Regions from separate parts of the Homo sapiens genome. Here regions 2 and 3 are each linked to region 1. The links are contacts of gene promoters, found by promoter capture Hi-C in human tissues and cell types (Jung and others, 2019). All regions are on one chromosome and are shown on one strand. The core of a region is centred on a gene start or on the middle of the fragment in contact, and the rest is flanking DNA. Distances in the headings are between cores, read along the strand shown.

Region 1 (3,640 bases), core at 539-3,038:
TTGCTATCTCTTGAACATCTTTCATTAAAACATCACCGTCTAGTTTGAGAATACTTTTAAGCCTGCTGGCCTCCTTTGGGGCATTCTTTTTTCTCTTTTCAGCACGCATCTTTCTTTTCCACTTACTCCGTAAGCTTTTAGCCATGTTTTACCTGAAGTTAACAAAAACACACATTCAAAAGCAAATCTTTAATATAAAAAAGAAAACAGGCAAATCCTTAGAAAACCAGGCCAACAGGTATCTCTACAAAACAAGTGAAAAGTAAAACTCTTCAATCTGTTCACTTTTTAGGACTTAACATGCAACTTATATGAAGATCAACATGGTACATACACAGTCACTAAATAACAAGATATCAAATCAAACTTGTGGTCATAAGCAAACTACAAATCAAACCAATTCTGAAAGCACCTTGCATGTCTTTTTTCTTTTTTTTTTTTTGAGACAGAGTCTTGTTCTGTGTCCCAGGCTGGAGTGCAGTGGCGCGATCTCAGCTCACTGCAACCTCCACCTCTCAGGTTCACGCCATTCTCCTGCCTCAGCCTCCCGAGCAGCTGGGACTACAGGCGCCCGCCACCACGCCTGGCTAATTTTTTGTATTTTTAGTAGAGACGGGTTTTCACCGTGTTAGCCAGGATAGTCTCGATCTCCTGACATTGTGATCCGCCCGCCTCGGCCTCCCAAAGTGCTGGGATTACAGGCTTGAGCCACCGCGCCCGGCTGAATTTCTTTACAAAATACAGAAATTTAATTTCCCCAGAATGCAACAGCGTCATCACCTTACATTTATGCAACAGCTTACAAATTACAAATGATTTTTATAAACACTTCACCTCATCTTCATTATCCATCCTCTCAAGCCAACTTAACGACTGTAAACTTATCTATTCCTACTCTTGTTTTCTTTCCACTCAGTTCCGCCCTAAATCCTCCACAAGGTGCTCAGTGTGATCTTTTAAAAAAGCATTCACTGCCTTTCTTCGAGTTCTTTAAAGACCTCCTCCCTCATATATATTCAAGATCTACAAGGTCATTTGTGATCTGTCCCCTGCCTCCTTCAACTCTATTTCATTTCATTCTCCATCCCCATCCCCGCAGGCACCAACTACGTCTGTAAAGAGTCCAAACTATCTCTACGTCAGTGCCTTCATATTTGCTGTCCCTATGCCTGGCAACTGCTCTTCTCAAGGCTTGCTCCTTCATTCGCTACCTCAGAAAGGACTCCTCTGACCTCCGTAAGCTCCCTTCCCTGCTTATTAAGTGTTACAACCTGAAACCATTGTTTTCTGTCACGCCCCCCGACCCTCTCCCCAGACTGTAGACTCCACGAAGGTAGAGGGAAAGGTCTTGTTCACTGCTGAATCGCACACTTTTTGCATACTTGTTGAACGAACCACTAACATTTTTTGAACGCCGGCAATCACAGTCATTCCGCTCCCTTGTCTACATAACTCAACCCTTGCGAGGGGCTAGGAAAGCGGGCGGCAAACAACCTTGAGGGCCGAAGTTAACTTCAGCGGGAGTGAACGACAGGGGTGGGCTCCACTTTATCCAGTGCACTCGGAAGCCGGAGGGCCCCCACCAAAAAGAGCAAGGGGAACCCTCGCCCTCAACAAGGCCTGCATCTCCGGACTGGAGCTCAAGTATAGCCCAGCGAGTGTCAAGAAACGAAATTCTCCAAGGGTGGCGGAATCAAGCCCCAAGTCCCATGTGTCACTGGACCGGTGAGGAACCGAACTCACCTGAGAAACGAACACCCACACCTCACGCTCACGCCGACCGGAAGTCTTTGCACTTCCGTCTTCCGGGCGGAGGCCACCCGGGGCGGACGCATTGCACGCCGGGAGACAAAATGTCTCAAGAAGCCTTGAGAGGCGGGATTTTGGAACCCGGGCGCTGACGAGCTTCCGCCATTGGTGTGATCGCGGACCTAGAAACTTGGTCCGTCCCATACAGGTGTAGAAGTCGGATTTGGAGAATGCTGACGGGTGTCCGGTCAAGGTTAGGCCCCAGGTAGGTCCGCTTTCCGGACGTGGGCAGGGTAGCCCCGAGACTAACCTATGGAGTGAACCTGGCCAGGGGACCCTACTTGTCAGATAGGGAGCTCCGAGCCGACCTTTAGATCTGACCTCAGCGTTTACATGATACTCATGTATTTCCTTAGATCAAGTCAGCCTAGATCAGGTGTTCTTCCAGAGGCCGTATTGAGATCATTTTTATTTGCAGCCTGTGCATTTTCTCATCTCGGGTGATGGCCTCACAGATGTACACATATGTAAAACCGTATCAAACTGCACACTTTAAATATGTGCAACTTATTGCATGTCAGTTATACTCAAAGCGGTTACCAAAAACAGAAAACAAGCTTTTCCTACCCCAGAGAAGAATTTAAAGGGTAAAATGATCAAAGGATTTCAGTTCTATCAATGTTTACCTGTCTGATCACTTACGTATCAGACACAATGCTAAGCCTAGGACGATTGTCTTAGCTCACGAATAACACTTACTGTACAACTATTTCTACTGGCATAGGCTTTGGAACCATATAGGTCTGTGTTGTACTCTTGCTTCCAACACTTGTGAACGATATGGGTGAGTAATTAATGTCATAAGGGCCTGAATTTCCTTGTCCCTAAAGTGAACATAATACAACCTAATTGATGCTGTAAGAGTTCAACAAATGGTACCCTTTTTACATTATAGTTTCAAAAGTATAGCTACACAGTACTATTTGTAAGCAATGTTTCTAGAGATTTACGACATATACCCAAAAAACATGTCTTTAATGATGGCCTGGTAAACTCCTGCTGGTTGCCAGAAAAAGGGGTTCTGAGGCAATCTATGGGTACCTTTTTTCTTTAAATTTGTGTCCTTTATGAAACCATGCATAGTATGGAAATTACTGAATTCAGAATATAGCAAGGTTAAAGAGGCTGAAAAAAACCTAGAACATTTGATATAAAAAAAGGAAGCATGCCTAAGAAACCTGGTTTATTTAAATGAGATTTCGTTCTTATAAAGCAAGTGAATTTCTGTTTTACAAGTTAACCATATACTGTACCTCATCTTTCAAATGAGAAGTTAGCTACCTCACCCAAAAATATAAGTGCACATTGCATTTTAGAGAAAACTTATATTCTGATAGTCCATATTTACTGTATCTTGTTTAACATACCAGGACAAGACTTTTGAATAGGCACTTGGCACCAGAAAAAATAATTTACCTATTATGAAAATGTCATGTTGTTAAAATACCATGCCATGATTTAGCATTACAAGTGCTTTAAACAGCTGAGTAAAACACCCTTTTACTCCTTTTTACTTATGTCCCCTCACCAGTTATATAAAAGCAGTTCTAGAAAAGTGGCCTTAGTATATTTAAAAGTCTAATTCATTCCTTCATTCATGCCTTTGAATATGCACTCTATTATAGGCACTATGCTGAATTTGCAAAGATGAAGGAAACTAAACTACTGTTTTTGGGAAACTTTATCTCCTAATGGACAAACAAGGCTTAAGGGTCCAACTAAACATTGCAGTGGCTCATCACAGAGCTGGAAGGAGCCTATATATAGAACTAGAGGCACAGTGGGTGGCCCTGAATACCTTACAGGAAGCAGACTGATTTTCTCATCCAAA
Region 2 (3,640 bases), core at 330-2,829, 1.5 Mb before region 1:
AGGATCTCTTGAGCCCAAGAGGTGGAGGTTGCAGTGAGCCGAGACCGTACCACTGCCTTCCAGCCTGGGTGACAGAGTGAGACCCTGTCTCACAGGCGCACACACACACACGCGCGCGCGCGCGTTGAAAACAAATGAGAAACCCTATGGACGTGGGGGACTAGACCTGTACAGTTGTCAAGCCTGGTTTTGAGAAAGTAACTGACTCCAGCTGGGGGTGGTGGCTCATGCCTGTAATCCCAGCACTTTGGGAGGCCAAGGCCAGGAGGATTACTTGAGCTCAGGAGTTTGAGACCAGCCAGGCAATATGGTGAGACCCCATCTCTCTCTCTCTTTTTTTTTTTTTTTTTAAGTTACTGACTCCTAGGGGGCATTTAAGCGGTTGAATATCAGCATTTCTTTAGCTATTTAGCACCTCCCTTGTGACTTTAAAGTACCTAGTGATTTTTTTTTTTTGGATGGAGTTTCGCCCTTGTTGCCCAGGCTAGAGTGCAGTAGTGTGATCTCGGCTCACTGCAACCTCTGCCTCCCGGGTTCAAGCGATTCTTCTGCCTCAGCCTCCCGAGTAGCTGGGATAACAGGCATGTGCCACCACGCCCGGCTAATTTTGTATCTTTAGTAGAGACGGGGTTTCTCCATGTTGGTCAGGCTGGTCTCGAACTCCCGACCTCAGGTGATCCGCCTATCTTGGCCTCCCAAAGTGCTGAGATTACAGGCGTGAGCCACCGTGCTCGGCCTGTGATTCTGATTTCTATATATGGAGCCATCTAATTATAATTATTTGTTGCAAATTATCTTTTCTACTGCATTAAGTTTCCTTATGGGCTGATTAAAATGTTCTGGTTGACAGCTCACCTGGTTATTTAAATTGTTTGCTTTATCTTCTGGCTTAGCAATTGTACTTCTAAAAAACTATCTTAAGGAAAAAAGTCAAGGATATATGAAAATATTTCTTATGAGAAGGTTCATCAAGGGCCGGGCCCGGTTTCTCATGCCTGTAATCCCAGCACTTTGGGAGGCCGAGGCAGGCAGATCACCTAAGGTCAGGAGTTCAAGACAAGCCTGGCCAAAATGGTGAAACCCTGTCTCTACTAAAAATACAAAAATTAGCTGGGCATGGTGGCGGGTGCCTGTAGTCTCAGCTACTCAGGAGGCTGAGGCAGGAGAATCGCTTGAATCCTGGAAGCAGAGGTTGCAGTAAGCCAAGATCATGCCACTGCACTCCAGCCTGGGCGACAGAACGAGACTCCATCTCAAAAAAAAAAAAAAAAAAAAAAAAAAAAAGATTCATCAAAACTTTGTAATTAATACAAAGTTTTGTAATTAATTAATACAAAGTTAATTAATACAAATTAATACAAAGTTTTGTAATTAATACAAAGTTTTGTAATACAAAACTTTGTAATAGTGAGAAGTTTGGAAACAGTAGATATTCAATTATTTAAAATTATTTGTAGAGTGCAGTGGTTTAAAAGTATAGCTTCTGGATTCAGACTAAGTGAATTCTGATAGTTGTGCTGCCACTTAGAACTTTATGACTTTGGGCAAGTTTCTTTCTTTCTTTTTTTTTTTTTTTCTTGAGATGGAGTCTCACTCTGTTGCCCAAGCTGGAATGCAGTGGTACGATCTCAGCTCACTGCAACCTCCGCCTCTGGGGTTCAAGTGATTCTCGTGCCTCAGCCTCAGCTGGGACTACAGGCACATGGCACCACACCTGGCTAATGTATTTTAGTAGAGACAGGGCTTCACCATGTTGCCCAGGGTGGTCTTGAACTCCTGAGCTCAGGTGATTCCGCCCCTCCCCACCCGCCTCACCCTCCCAAAGTGCTGGGATCACCGGTGTGAGCCATCACGCCTGGCCCGGGCAAGTTTCTTAATGCAATTGTTAATTGTAGCTTAACAGCTGTCCTTGGATTATTTGAGTATGAAAGAAGTTATTAATACCTTGTAAAATGCTTAGAACATGTCTGGTCCATAGTAAAGCTCCATAAAGATTTAGCTATTGTTACTGTTAAAGTGTTAGATGCACAGATACTCACAACATTTTTCAAATGGAAAAGAATTTTAAAACAGCATGTATAGAAGCCGGTGAGGTGGCAAGCACCTGTAGTCCAGCTGCATGGGAGACTAAGGCAGAACGACCGCTTGAGCCGAGGAAGGAGTTTGGGGCTGTAGTATGGGATGATTGTTCTTGTGAATAGCCACTGCATTCCAGCCTGGGCAACCTAGTGAGACCCCGTCTCTTAAAAAAAAAATAAAACCCCAAAACAAAAATAAACCAAAAACCCCAACAAAACAGCATGTATAATGTATCATTAAATATAAGAATAGGAAAAAAAAACCGGAATGATCTACTCTGGGTGATAGGACAATCTCTTTTGGCTTCTGTGTTTTTTCTGTCCTACAACTCTTCTGTTTTATAACTGAAAAAAATGTTTTGCATGTGAATTTTAGACTGGGGTCTTTGGGTAAAAGCACCTAGAGATTACTGGCAGGTTAATTCTAAAAAGGGCAATTTGTTTTTTCACTTTATCTCAGAGTTTCATTTGTTTCCCAGTGATTGACTAATTATTTTAACAAAGTAAAGCTTCATTGTTGTGTGTATGCAATTGAATCGAAAATATACTTTTCATACAAAGACAACTTCCTAAAGGTAAGTGTAAACTTGTATGTAGTTTGTTAATCTTATTGTGGTATTTTGTTTTTCTTAAACACAGTTTCCTGTTCTTTTGCTTTTGCATGTCAACATTGCTGAAAATAAATATTTTGCTCTGCAGGGATAGTAAGCCAGATGGAGTGGTATTTATAATTTGAGGAAATAGCTTAAACTTTGTCATCAGTTTAAATTGCATTAAAAAACCTGAAGCACATTGATTAGAGTTGTTTAAGGTAGAGAACCAGAAATATTCTAAATATCCTATGCCTAACCTGTCAAAACTGTTCCTGAAATATATAGAGAGGGAAAGAGTACCTGAGGAGCTCAGGAAGAGTGATGGCCTAGAGCGTAGCTTGAATTGAGCAGCAGAGGTTTCTCTGGAGTGTCCTGTATTATCTTAGGCAAATTTGTAGTCTTCTTAATAGTATCTGTTTACATATCAATATGTTTTCTGTCCAGGCAAGGTGGCTCATGTCTATAATCCCAGAACTTTAGGAGGCCGAGATGGGCAGATCACTTAAGCCCAGGAGTTGGAGACCAGCCTGGGCAACATGGAGAAACCCCATCTCCGCAAAAAAATACAAAAATTAGCTGGGCGTGGTTGCACATGCCTGTAGTTCCAGCTACCCGGGAGGCTAAGGTGGGAAGATCACCTGAGCCCAGGAGGTTGAGGCTGCAGTGAGCTGTGTTTGCATCACTACACTCCAGCCTGGGCAGCAGAGACCCTGTCTCCAACCAAAAACAAACAAACAAACAAAAATATATATAATGTATATGTATATGTGTGGTTTTCCTGTCAATTTTTAAGTAGAATGTCCTCAGATACATATGCCATGTTTATCCTGTTACTTCCAGGATACCTGGGAATACCCAGAGGTTTGTGTCTATGTTAGTGTGAGAAGCCCTAACACATTTTTGTGTAGAGACAGCAAAACCTGTCTCTACAAAATAAAAAATAAAAAAATTAGCTTAGCATGGTGCCGT
Region 3 (3,640 bases), core at 593-3,092, 1.3 Mb before region 1:
TCAGGAGTTTCAGATCAGCCTGACCAACATGACGAAACCCTGTTCTACAAAAAATACAAAAATTAGCTGTGCGTGGTAGCACGTGCCTATAATCCCAGCTATTTGGGAGGCTGAGGTGGGAGGATTGCTTAAGCCCAGGAATCCAAGGCTGCATTGTGCTATGATTGTGCCTGTGAATAGCCACTATACTTCAGCCTGGGTGATATATTGAGACTGTATCTCTTAAAAAGAAGAAAAGGAATTGAGACTGAGATAGGTTAGATAAATTGTTTCAGTCTAGGAACCAAGTCGAATGGAGGACTGTATGACTCCAAGCCTGTGGTGTCATTTTTTGTTTTTGTTTTTGCTTTTGTGGTACTCCAGGCATCTATGTAAACCACCGTCATATGTAGTAAGGCACTTTCTATTGCTGTAGGGTATTTTCCTATTTTAAGAATCAATATGCTTACCTTTTGGCAAAATTGACTAAAATTTAGTAAAGATACATACTTTAAAAAAAATTGTGATGATTCAGTAGAATCAAGCTTTTACTAGTATTTTTGATATAACTTGTTATAGTCTCCAAAAATAACATCTATTTATGTATTTTTCTTTCAGGAGTTGATACCAAGTTGAAATTCACTCTTGAGCCATCTTTAGGTCAAAATGGTTTTCAGCAGGTAACTTTGATTTTGAAAACACTCTTCTTTTGGGGTTACCAACAGGGCACATTGAGATATATTCTCAAAGTGGAAATAACGTATTCTTTGATATGAATGTGAAGATGAGTCACTTCAACAATATTTCAGTTAAAGTAGCTTTTGAGCTACAAGTGGCCTGGGTTTATATTTGCAGTGACAAATTTTGCACTTTCTATTAATGGTACATGTGTGAAAAATTTTAAAATGAATAAATTTCACACCTGTACCATAATGTCTTTTATTCTGAACCCCATAATATATATTTTGGCTTATTAACCAGAGCTTCCCAACCATTTTGTTTGTACTGCAAAGGGGTCACAGATGTGTTAAGGGTGCCCAAGGGGTGGGACGTGGCACAGTAATAGCCATGGACTGATCACTTCTGTCTGAAAGAAGCTTTGACTGTTTACCCCATTGTGCTGTGCAAATTTCAGCACATTCTATGAATGTCAAGATGGGAAAAAGATTGCAAAGTGCTTATCTAGGTCACTGTGATCACCTCCTGGGATTTCTTCTTTGTTCCTAGTGGTACGATGCTCTCAAGGCAGTTGCCAGGCTATCCACAGGAATACCAAAGGAATGGAGGAGAAAGGTAAGGAGGACTCATAGGGCTAGAATACAGAAGGATCATCACTGCCCTTCTTTAGAGCCTCTGGAATGTCAAAAAATATATTCTAGGTTTAGTTACTTGAAAACCTGTCTTGATTATTCATTCATGCAATAAATATTTATTGATTATTCTGTGCCAAGTAATGTTCTAGGTTCTAGGGATATAGCAATGGAAAAAAACAAAACAGACCAAAGTTTTTTGTCCTCATGGAGCTTACAATGAATAAAATATAAAGTATGTCAGATGGTAATAAGTGCCATGGATAAAAATAAAGTGTAGAGAGAAATAAAGAGCGTTTAGGAGAAAAGGGGTAAGGAGGTGGAATTTTAAATAGCAAGGTGACATTCGAGTAGGCCCCTGAAGGAGGTGAGAAGCCAGCCATGCAAGTACCTGGGAGGAGATACTCCAGGCAGAGGGAACAGCCAGCGCAAGCACCCTCAGCCCTCAGGCGGGAGCATCTTGCATCTGGGTTGTATTCAAGCAAAGATGGGGTGGGGCGGGGCTGGGGCACAGTGAACAAAGGGGGAAGCAATAGGTGAGGGGGTCATAGAGGTAATGTGGTGGGTTGAGGGGTGGCAGATCGTGGAGAACCTGGTGGGCTATCATAGGTCTTGGGCTTTTGCTCAGTGTGAGCTAGGAAGCACTGGGAAGTTTTGAGCAGGGGAGTGACATGATCTGACTTTTATTATGAACGGGCTACTCTGGGTACTGACTTGAGAATATGAGAGACAAGGGCTGAAGTAGGGAGACCAGTAGGAGACTTGCAGTAGCTCAGGCAACAGATGCATCAGGGTTGTGGTAGTGGAGATGGAAATCCTAGACGTATTTTGAAGGCTGAGCTTACATGAATTCCTCTTGGACTGAATATAAGGTATAAAAGGGATGTCAAAGATGACTTCAGGATTTTGGCCTGAGTGATTGGGAGGTAGAATTACTGTTTACTCAGATGGGAGGAGTAGGTGAGGTGTGTGTGTGTCTGTACGTGTAGGTAGGGTAGGTGGTGGAATAAGTGATTGGTTTTGGATCTGTTAAGGTTGACATGCCTATTAGATATCTAATTTGAAGGTATCAAGTGAGCATTTGGATATATGCTTCTGAGGTTAGGAGAGAAGTCTGGCTGGATATATAAATCAATGTTTATTTCTGCTAAATCATGTTTAAATACCAAAACTTGAAATACACACTTAGGATATTAATTTATAAGCCTAATCTTTATATTTCTAGAATTTGAAAATTGAGGGTTCCTCAAAATAGTCATGAAAATGACATTATGAAATATAACTTTCAGAAACAGATTTTCTGGATAAGATAATCAAAGGGTAAAAATATCCAGTGGCTCTTTTAAAAAACTTACTCATTATGGGAGCCCATCTGTCAGTTTTGTGTATGTGTGTGAGAGGGATGGTTTAAAGGCAGAGGCCACTCCATGGTGAAAAAAAGCCCCATTCACCATGAGTGACCAGATGGCTCTTGCCTAAGTATGGAGAGCAATACAGAGCCAAGTAAAACAAGCTTATGAGATTATACAGGTTATTCAATGAACAGAAATACAATTTGAAAATCTTCTTGGTTTGTCTTTCTAACAGTATCCCTAATGCCTGGATTGCTGCTTGACACATAGTGGGAACTCAACAAATATTTATTGAAAGAGTAAATGAAAGGCCCTAAATGGTGCAAATCAGTGCAACAAACATTTCAGTGAGACTCTTGTAGATTTCTACTTATGAGCGATAGATAGCTGGTCTAGGGACACTTCCCATTTTCTTGTCGAATGCAATAACTACTTTCTAATAAAGGTGAAGTTATATATTCTACTTTGGCATTCTCCTTTGTCTATGTAATATTTTAGGTTTGGTTGACCTTGGCAGATCATTATTTGCACAGTATAGCCATTGACTGGGACAAAACCATGCGCTTCACTTTCAATGAAAGGAGTAATCCTGATGATGACTCCATGGGAATTCAGATAGTCAAGGTAATGCCCCTGAACTTGGCCTGTCATCCTAATATAGAAGAAAGACTCTAAAAGCCAGTTGCTTTTTGGACAGAGGATCAAATGATCTCTACCTTCTGGTTTGAATGTCTGTATATTTTCTGCCTTCTCATTTCATTAGCTTTTTCATGGGGAACCTTGACAATGTGTTGTCTGCATAAATTTAAATGTTACCGGTAAGAAGAAAATATTTGCAAATGAGCTTTCATTCACATTCAACTTATTAATCTTCCTCACACTATAGGAAGGACGCTTTGTCATGGGTCAATGATGCCAACTGGATTTTTATATAAAAGTCACTGATTGAAAAAGTTAGTTAAGTATATTTCATATGAGAATGATTTGGTTCTTATTAGG

Evidence for each region. Contacts are between HindIII fragments. The study calls those that stand out against the background at their distance.
Region 2: a contact is called between a fragment that was not itself captured here and the fragment with the promoter of LLPH in region 1, in 1 of the 25 tissues and cell types used here (psoas muscle).
Region 3: a contact is called between a fragment that was not itself captured here and the fragment with the promoter of LLPH in region 1, in 1 of the 25 tissues and cell types used here (bladder).

What each region holds. Positions count from the first base shown.
Region 1 is chr12:66,128,962-66,132,601 of GRCh38, forward strand. It overlaps LLPH (LLP homolog, long-term synaptic facilitation factor), which reads right to left and starts at 1,789. Exons shown (of 3, transcript NM_032338.4): 1 at 1,744-1,789; 2 at 1-152. The coding sequence starts at 145. It overlaps LLPH-DT (LLPH divergent transcript), which reads left to right and starts at 1,790. Exons shown (of 2, transcript NR_125724.1): 1 at 1,790-2,014. RefSeq lists enhancers at 1,513-1,662, 1,703-1,812. The HindIII fragment of the contact is 6,410 bases long and covers 1-3,640 here.
Region 2 is chr12:64,641,305-64,644,944 of GRCh38, forward strand. The region is part of intron 1 of RASSF3 (Ras association domain family member 3); the gene reads left to right. Among named protein-coding and RNA genes, the nearest start is that of MIR548Z, 21 kb to the left of the region's middle. RefSeq lists an enhancer at 139-642. The HindIII fragment of the contact is 4,634 bases long and covers 1-3,640 here.
Region 3 is chr12:64,827,238-64,830,877 of GRCh38, forward strand. TBC1D30 (TBC1 domain family member 30) reads left to right here. Exons shown (of 12, transcript NM_015279.2): 2 at 598-659; 3 at 1,207-1,272; 4 at 3,140-3,265. Among named protein-coding and RNA genes, the nearest start is that of TBC1D30, 4.4 kb to the left of the region's middle. RefSeq lists an enhancer at 293-342. The HindIII fragment of the contact is 5,206 bases long and covers 1-3,640 here.